Linked DNA regions of Homo sapiens: region 1 is linked to region 2. The links are contacts of gene promoters, found by promoter capture Hi-C in human tissues and cell types (Jung and others, 2019). All regions are on one chromosome and are shown on one strand. The core of a region is centred on a gene start or on the middle of the fragment in contact, and the rest is flanking DNA. Distances in the headings are between cores, read along the strand shown.

The links. The method cuts DNA at HindIII sites, captures the fragments that hold promoters and counts their contacts. A contact is called where the count stands out against the background at its distance.
Region 1: a fragment that was not itself captured here is called in contact with the fragment with the promoter of TRPV4 in region 2 in 2 of the 25 tissues and cell types used here (IMR-90 fibroblasts and adrenal gland).

Annotation. Positions count from the first base shown.
Region 1 is chr12:109,718,987-109,723,452 of GRCh38, forward strand. All of the region lies in intron 1 of FAM222A (family with sequence similarity 222 member A), which reads left to right. Among named protein-coding and RNA genes, the nearest start is that of FAM222A, 7.4 kb to the left of the region's middle. The HindIII fragment of the contact is 6,122 bases long and covers 1-4,466 here.
Region 2 is chr12:109,832,148-109,836,807 of GRCh38, forward strand. TRPV4 (transient receptor potential cation channel subfamily V member 4) reads right to left here and starts at 1,251. Exons shown (of 16, transcript NM_021625.5): 1 at 1,203-1,251. MIR4497 (microRNA 4497) reads left to right here and starts at 1,201; the gene lies at 1,201-1,289. The HindIII fragment of the contact is 21,611 bases long and covers 1-4,660 here.

The sequences.
Region 1 (4,466 bases), core at 1,759-4,258, 110 kb before region 2:
GGGGGCTTGCATCCCTGTGGGCAGAGTTAGTGCCACTTCAGAGATGGGGAAACGGAGACCCTGGGGAAGGGGCGACCTGCCCAGACCACACAGCCAATGTGCAGCCACCATCTGGGTCTCTCTGACCCCAAATTCATGCCCTGACCACTCCAGTGGTCACAGTCAGGAATCATGTAATCATGCCTGGATACAGGTCACCAGACTAGTACCTTCCAGAGTTTACGTCATAACCCTAAGAAATGCACATGCTGGTACCACCCCCATTTTGCTGAGAAGCAGGGGCCCAGAGAAGGTATTATACTTTGCTGCCCGAGGTCACACAGCCAGGGAGTGGCAGAAGTATGAGGTTCATTGGCAGCCAGAGATGGGAAGGCAGAGGCGGGGTTCCAGCTTCCCACTCCTCTTCCCACCCACTCGTGGTTCCATTCGGTAAAACCAGGCTTTAGGTAAAGACTGAGCAAGGACACCCTGTCGCCCGTGTCCCAGTGGTCAAGTGATAAGAAATCAGATGGCCCACAGCCTCTAGAGGGAGTAAGATGAGTCTGCAGTTAACTGGAATTCTAGACAGGGCTGGAGCAGGGCTGGAGGAGGGAAAACCTGCAGCTGGTCCTGGAGGGCTTCCTGACAAAGCGGGCTGTGCTCTGTGCCCTGAGGACTGAGTGGCTCTCCCCAGCATGGAGTAAATGGGGGTGTCTCTGGCAGAGGGAGTTTGGAGACCCGGGAGCATGACCAGGAAGGGCAGGGGGAGCTTATAAGATGGTGGAGGTGAAAGGGAGATTAGGAGGGTGTGCAGGGGGCATCGGGTGCTGAGCTAAGGGTGCTGTGAGGCCCTGAGGAAGAGGGAAGCCAGTGAAAGCATCTGAGAGGCAGGGGCCAGCTAAGATCCCAGTGCCTTAGAGGCCAACAGAGAGCTTGGGAGTCGCAGACCTGGGCTGAAACCCGGTGAGAGAGAGCACCTGCACTCTCACTGGCTGTGTCCTCAGAGAAATTATTTTACCCCTCTGTGCCTCAGTTTCCTCTTGTTCAGGAGAGTCTCAACAGCTTTCTCATGGGCTTGTGGGTGGGGTGAGCTTGCATGTGCATAGTGCTTGCAGGGGGCTTAGCTGAGCCCCTCAGAGCTGGGTGGGCTGGGCTTGAATACAGGCCTGGGCCAGTCCTGGCCCCACAGCAAGCCAGCATCCCAGCCGCAGCAGCTGTTTGGGGCCCTGGGGGCCCCTGCTATTGTGCAGAGGGCACAGGGGACAAAGGCCTGGGAGGTCAGGGGGTGAGGCCGAGACTAGCTGTGAACAGGCTCCCGGGGATGGGGACTTAATGACGCAGAACTTAATGACCCAGAGTCTGTGGGGAGGGGGGCCTCCCTTGGAGGAGGAGGGAGGTCCAGCCACCAGCTGTCTGCTCCAGGATTCGCTGCCAGGGCACGGGCAGCTGCCTCACAGAGTCCAGGCCTGAGCTTGGCACTGGGGGAGGCAGAGGTGGCAGGGCCTCCTGGCATGAAATCCCCAGGCCTGAATGCAGGGCTTGGCCCTGCCCCTCGGCATCTGCAGATCTCCGTCTCTTCATCTGTGATGGGCCAAGGGACCACCTTAGAGGGCAGCTGTGAGGTTTGGCAGTAACCGATAGCCAATGGGCAGTAAACAGGAACTGCTATTTTTGCTCTTTATCCATCCGTTCATTCAGAGAGCTTCCCTGCTCCAGGCCAGGCTCCCTGCCAGATGCTGGGGACATGAAGATGAACAAGCCCCAGTTGCCTTGAAAGGTGGTGTGTACCTACCGAGGGAGAGGCCTCGAGTGCACCCCCTCAGCCACCCAACAAGTGCATGTGGGTTAATTGCCACAATGGAGGAATTCACAGTATGTGGGCACTGTGCCAGGGGCAGGGGGGCACAGCAGTGAACAAGCCAGACGTGGGCCCTGCCCTGGGCCACCACCAGTCTCTCAAAGGAAATCAGAGGTGGAAACAATTACTTCTGGCTGGAGTAGCCAGGGAGGGCTCCCTGGAGGAGGTGGCACTTGTAATTGAATACTTTTGCCTATTATGAGAATCACAGGACACTGGTATCTGCTGTGTGCCAGACTGAGTTTCCTACTTTGGCATTTTGTTCTCTCATTTAATCCTCATATCCCTCTCTGAAGGGTGTTTTTATCCCTGTCATGTGAATGAAGAAACTTAGCCTGATGATGTGAAGCAGCAGCCCTGGGCCACATGGCAGGCCCACAGAACCCCCTTCATTATCCACACAAGCTTTTGCCTCTTCACTGCCTGTAAGGGTACTGGGCATGGTAGGATCCTCGGGCAGGGGCCGAGGGGACGCTGTTCTGGGCCAGCTGTCTCCTTTATGAGCTTCACGACCTTCAGCAGGTCACCTTCCCCCACCCCTCCCAACCCAGACTCAGCCGCGTCCTTCATAAATGTCAAGGATGGCAAATCTGTGGCAGGCCTGGCTTGCCTTATGCCGCTGTGCCCTTGGCAGACATTGCCAATCAATTGCTGCCCTCTTTCCCTGCTGAGTTCTTCCCCTGACCTTGGGTTCCTTCCAGGGCTCTGGGCAGGCAGCGCCAATCAATCAGCAGGGCCTGTGAGCTGAAACCAGTTGCCTGCCTGGCCTCAATGAGCTCAGGGTGCCTCTGGCCCGTCTCCATGTGGCTCAGAGGACCAGGGGGGACAGCGAGGGATTCTAGGGGATCTCTGTGTATCCAGGTTGTTCTTAAGCCACAAAAGCCTTTTAGGTGGGAGGGTCTGTTACCCTCTTCTAACTCCCACTTGTGTTCATCCATGCAGATTCCGAGCACTGACAGTCTGGATGATGATAACAGCATGTATTTAGTTCTTCCTGAGAGCTAGGTCCTTCCTGGGCACTCTCTCGTTCATCATTCTGCAGAACACCTGCAGCAAGCCTCCCTGCACCTCCAGGGAGAATTCTTAACCCATTTTAGAGATGAGGGAACTGAGGCTTGGCTCAGCTAAGCAGAGTAGGGTCACGCACTTGTTGGGTGGCCGAGCTGGCATTCAGACCCAAGTCTGAAAGTTCACAGCCTGGGACAGGGCTGTAGGTGGCAGGCAGACAGGGGAGCCCTCCCAGAAAAGATGTCATTTTTTTGGAGGCTTTAAAGGCTGGTGGGCTTCTGACGGGCAGAGCCAGGAAGGGTGAACGTCCGGGTGGAGGGAACAGCATGAGAGGCAGCTCAGAGGCAGGCAGGTGAGAGTGTTTACTAAGGGAGCAGTGTGTAACCAGATGTGGCTAGAATGTGGAGAGAGAGGACTGTGGAAGGAGCCAGGGCTGGCCTGGATGTTTGGACTTTGCTTTCCCATAGTAGGGAGCTCTGGCAGCTCTTTCAGCAGAGTAACAGTGAGGTCCCGTCTAAGAGTACTTATTCAACAGCTCTGTGAATCCTGGGTGAGGTTGCTTGGGGGGCTACCTTCAGTCTACTAGAAGCTTTGGCCTAGAACAGTGCCTAGTGCACAGTAGGTAGACATCCAAGAAGTATTGATTGAATGAATAAATGAATGAAGACTCCCCGGACTAAAATGCTCCTGACCTCCCCAGGGGCCCAGCTGCAAGGAGGGGAGAGACCAGAGTCCTCCTCTCCAGGCAAAGTTGAACACCAGGCCTGGCAGTGACGGGCAGGAGAAGGGGCCAGGCAGGTACCTGGGACAGGGCTTCCCCTTCACCACTCCCCTACCCTGCTGCCTGTCCCCAGGACCCCTCCTAGACCTTCCTGCTGGGCTGTCTGCACCTTTCGAGCCACACCTGGCGGGCAGTGTGGGCCCAGCGCTTGGGGGGATGAAAGATGAAGGTTCGTGACCATTTTTTAACTCAATAAAGGGAGAGACAAGCTGCAGGCTGCAGGCCGGAGATATAATTAGTTCACAGCAGTGGCGCTTTCTTGATTTAGCTTCTGAGAGAACAAGACAAGGATGTTATACCCAATTAGCAGTAACATCCAGTCGGAGCCTCAATAGGTGAGATAACAAGCTATTTTTATGACTTTTCTTTCCCAGCTTGGAGGGAGCGGGTGGGGGGGGGAGGGGGTATCAGGGCCTTATTTCTTTTCATCAGGGAACAATTATTAGCGATCTCAGGATTTCCCAAAGCCAAATGATGCATTTGTTAACCCAAACATGCAAGCATCCCAGGGTAGCAGCAGGGGTGGCAAGCTGGCATTTTGAGCCCGGGGTGGATGGGAGGGGTGCAGGCCACTAGCCTCTATTCTGGAAGCCCTCTGAAAAGGTTCCCAAATGTGGGCAGCAGAAGCGCAGGCCCTTGAGATATTCTTAGTATTTGCCTTGATTTCCCTACCTGCGTTCAAAGGGACATAAGGAGGCCAGGCCAGTTTCCCTGGGGATGAGGAAGGAGCCAGTTTTGGCCCTTGGCAGCCCTTCTTGGCACCACTGTAGATTCTTTCTGCCAACTAGGCCGGAGGTTCTGGCACCTCAGTCTTGAACCTGCCATTGCACTTTGCCCACC
Region 2 (4,660 bases), core at 1-2,500:
GCTAAGGGACCAGGCCAAGGTCACACAGCAGGGGACTGCAGAGCACACCCCGGGCCCCACACAGGCCCGCTCTTAGCCCCGCAGATAACCCAGGCCTGACCTTTCTACCCTTGTTCCCCCAAAAGCCCACCTCGTCACCCTCCTCAGGAGCCCGGGGAGTCCCGACTTACCCTCTGCCCTTGCTCCGGAGCCAAAGTGGCAAAGCTTAAATCCTCAAGCGGTTCTTAGCATCCCAGAACAAAGCTCCCACAGGGTATCTGCCTAACATTTCAGGGGTTCACGGCCCCTCTGCCCCCAGCAGAGGCTCTTGTTTTAGAAGCTGAGCCAGAACAGCCACAGGGCCCACCTCTGCCCTGCCACTTCCCAAGCACCCCGGGGGCACCAGGCCCTGTGTGCAGAGCTGGCCCCAGGACAGGCCACCTGGTGTGGTGGGAAGGGCTTTGGGGCTGGATAGTCCCTGGGTTTAAATCCCAATTGTCTAGATCCCCGACCTAAGCCTCAGTTTCCCCATCTGCAAAACAGAGAGGACAGACAGAGGGAACAGCTGGGGCAGGCTGGAGCAGTGGGTGGCTCGATGAATGCATCTGTGGTTGGTGTTTCCAGGCAAGCGGGGAGTGTGGGAGTCTCTCTCTCCCCCACCCCCACCCCCGCTACCCACCCCCAGGAGCCACCCGCCCCCGGGACGTCCTGAGAGTCCAGGGCAGAACTAGAGGTTAAAGATTTTCATGCCTCTTGGAGGAAACAGCCGTCTCTCCGGGACTCAGTAACCAAGAAGAAGCCTTTGGAAGCTCCAGACTCCAAATTCCCTCCGACATGCTCAGGGGCCAAGGGCAAACCTTAGGTCCCCCGAAATCCCTCTTCCAAGTCTCCTAAGGTGGGCTGCAAGGCTCCGGGCCTTTGGTTCCCTGGCTTGGGGTCTCAGGGAACCGAACCGCCCTCCCCCCAGACCTGCTACCCCAGGCCCCACGTTGGTGCCCATTTCACAGGTGATAAAACCGAGACCCAAAGAGCCGGTGTCCGGCCCAAGGGCACTTAGCTGAGAGGCTGGCGCCTGCGGAACCTGGTGCCTTCCGTCTCCCGCGCCCCTGGCCCGCATTTTGGAGCCTCGGGACCCCCCGGAGCCGGACGGGCCACGGAGATGTCCCCAGGGGCGCGAGGGGACCTCGGCTGAGCCGCCCCTCCCGGGCCCGGGCCCCACTTACCTCCGGGACGGCTGGGCGCCGGCGGCCGGGAGATCCGCGCTTCCTGAATCCCGGCCGGCCCGCCCGGCGCCCGTCCGCCCGCGGGTCCCTCCTCCGCCGGCTCAGGTTCCAGCCGCGCGCCGCCCCCGGCCAGCTCCCCGCCCACCCGCCGGCTCGCGGACCCCGCCGAGCGCAGGCCCTAGAAGGGGCGGCCCCTACTCGCACCCCGCCCGCCCAGCGAGGGCCTCCCCTGCGGGGGAGGTGCAGGGCCAGGGCCTCAGTTTCCTCGCCTGGAAAATGGGTGTCGCGATCCCCGGATAGAGCGGCAGACGGTCTTTGGAGAGGGCTCTAGTTGGAATCGGCTCCGATTCGATCTTGCTCCGTGACTTCGGGCCGCCCTGGGACTGTGTCCTAGTCTCTAAATGGGCGTCCCGGCCCAGTCCTCCACGTGTTTGCTCATTCATTCATTCAGCAGACAATTTCCTCCGAGGCGTTGAAGGAGGTCCCTACCCTCGGGTATGGCCCATAGAGATGGTTCAGGGGTAAATAAATGTGAGCTGCTCTCCTTGGTCTTCACCCAGTGCTTACTGCGAAGCCTGCCTCGGAGTAGGCCATCAATGTTTTGTTGCTGTTGTTTTTGAGACAGGGTCTCACTCTGTTGCCCAGGCTGGAGTGCGGTGGCGTGATCAGGAATCACTGCAGCCTCAACCACCAGCGTTCAAGCAATCCTCCCGTATCAGCCTCCCTAGTAACTGAGACCACAGACGCCTACCACCATGCTTGGCTAATTTTATTTAAATTTTTTGCAGAGATAGGGTCTCACTATGTTGCCTAGGCTGGTCTCAAACTCCAGGCTCAAGCGATCTACCCACCTCGGCCTCCCAAAGTGCTGGGATTAGAGGTCTGAGTCACCGTGCCTGGCTCAATGCGTTTTTGTTTATTTTTTTTATTATTATTATTATTTTTGATACATGTTCTCCCTTTGTCACCCAGGTTGAAGTGCAGTGGCATGATCACGGCTCACTACAGCCTCAAACTCCTGGCCTCAAGAGATCCTCCCACCTCAGCCTCCTGAGCAGCTGGGAGTACAGGCATGCGCCACCACACCCCACTAATTTTTATTTTTTTGTAGAAGGGGGGGTGGGGGAGGGCAGCCGGTCTACAACTCCTGGCCTCAAGTGATCCTCCCACTTCAGTCTCCCAAAGCACTGAGAGTATAGGCATGAGCCACCACACCTACCCATGTATTTTCTTTTATCAGATAACAAAGGTGGGCCCCAACACATAGCCATACCCTCTACCCAGCACTGAGTCCACTTGAATACCTCCACAGGATGGGCAGCTCACTTCCTCCAGGGTGGTTGGAAAGCCTAGCAGGCCCACAGCTTGGCTCTGTGACTCTCTAACCCAGCAGCCCTATGCAAGTCCCTTCACCTTTGTGCCTCAGTGCCTCTACATCCCCCTGTAGAGTGGGGCATACAAAAGTCCTCACCTCACAGTCGCAGTGAAGATGCTGGGAGCATCCAGGCTGTGCAGAGCCCTTTTTTTTTTTTTTTTGAGACAGAGTCTTACTCTGTCGCCCAGGCTGGAGTTCAGGGGTGTGATCTCAGCTCACTGCAACCTCTGCCTCCTGAGTTCAAGCGATTCTCCTGCCTCAGCCTCCTGGGGGCTGGGATTACAGGCATGCGCCACCACGCCAGGCTAATTTTTTGTATTTTTAGTAGAGACAGGGTTTCACCATGTTGGCCAGGCTGGTCTTGAACCCCTGACCTCAGTTGATCCACCCACTTTGGCCTCCCAAAGTGCTGGGATTACAGGTGTGAGCCGCCGTGCCCGGCCCAGAGCCATGCCATTTTCATCATTAGTGTTTTCACTAAATTGAGCTGACTCAGGGACTGTGGGGTAGCTCCTTCCTCCTCAGCTTGAAAATAGCAGCATCTCTCCTGAGGTCCAACAGCTGGAAAGTGAAATTTTAGAATTGCTGGGTGGGGAGGCGAAAGAGAGAGAGAGAGAGTGTGTGTGTGTGTGTACCCCTGAATAGGAGTGATGTGTTCACCTCCAGCGTGAAACATTTACAAAGAAACAAACCCTAATAATTAACTCACTGAGCACAGAAGCCTAGGGGATGAGAGGGAGAACAGGCTGTGAGGTAGGGTTTGCTCTACCCATTTTGCAAGTGGGAAACTGAGGCTTGGAGAGGAGTATGGCCTCTCCAAAAGCTGCTCCCTCCATGGTGGGGGTTGGGGTGGGAAAGAGAACCCTCTGAGGGTCCGGAGTAAACAGGCAGATGTCTGGCAGTGGAGAGGAAGGTAAACACAGGGCCCCTCACACCTCCCTGACAGACAGCTATCTGCTGGGGGCCCTCAGGGCTGGGGCTGGGGCTGGGCCAGGTTGAGAGTGGAGGAGTGAGTCTGGGACCCATTTCTGCAGAAAGGCCTGTCTCAATTTAAAGAAAATGGCAAGGGTGATTCCAGCCATAAGGCAGCTGATGTTGGGGACTGGAACTGGGGGAGATGGGGCCAGGGATGGCGACCTCCTCTTCTCTAAGCTCAGAGGGAAGGGGCCTGAGCGCTCAGCATCATCATCACTAACCCAGCTCTTTCCTGATCCCCATTTCACAGATGGGGCAACTGAGGCCCCCATGTAGGGAAGTGACTCATCTTGGGCTAAGCAGCTGGAGCTTGGCCTCTGCACCAGACACTGGGGTTCAAATCCTGCCCTGCCGCTGATGGGAGAAGGAGCTGTGGTGGGAGCTGTGGGCAAGAGCCTCCCTCTCTCTCTGTGCCTCAGTTTCCTCACCTAAAAAATGGGTACCAGTGTCCATGAAGCAAGGGAACGTGTTCATGACCACAGGTCTAGCACCTGGCACTTAGTAGGTGCTTTAAAAATACTGGTTGATGGGTCAGGCGAAGTGGCTCATGCCTGTAATCCCAGCACTTTGGGAGGCTGAAGTGGGCAGATCAACTGAGGTCAGGAGTTCGAGACCAGCCTGGCCAACATGATGAAACCCCGTCTCCACTAAAAATACAAAAATTAGTTGGGCATGGTGGTGGGCACCTGTAATCCCAGCTACCTGGGAGGCTGAGACAGAATTGCTTGAACCTGGGAGAGGGAGGTTGCAGTGAGCAGAGATCGTGCCACTGCACTCCAGCCTGGGCAACAGAGAGCGACTCCATCTCAAAAAAAAAAAAAGTCCTGGTTGATGGAGCTGGGGGAGAGGAGAATGGGAGGTTGCTGTTTGTTGGGCGTAGGGTTTCAGTTTTGCAAGATGCAAAGAGTTCTGGAGATGAACGAGGGTCACACAACAATATGAATATACTTTTTAAGTTTAATTTTTAATCTTTTTTTTTTTATTTTTAGAGAGAGACAGGGTATTGCTCTGTAGCCCAGGCTGTAGTGCAGTTGCCTGCTCATAGCTCACTGCAGCCTCAAATTCCTAGGTTCAAGCGATCCTCCTGCCTCAGCCTCCTGAATAGCTG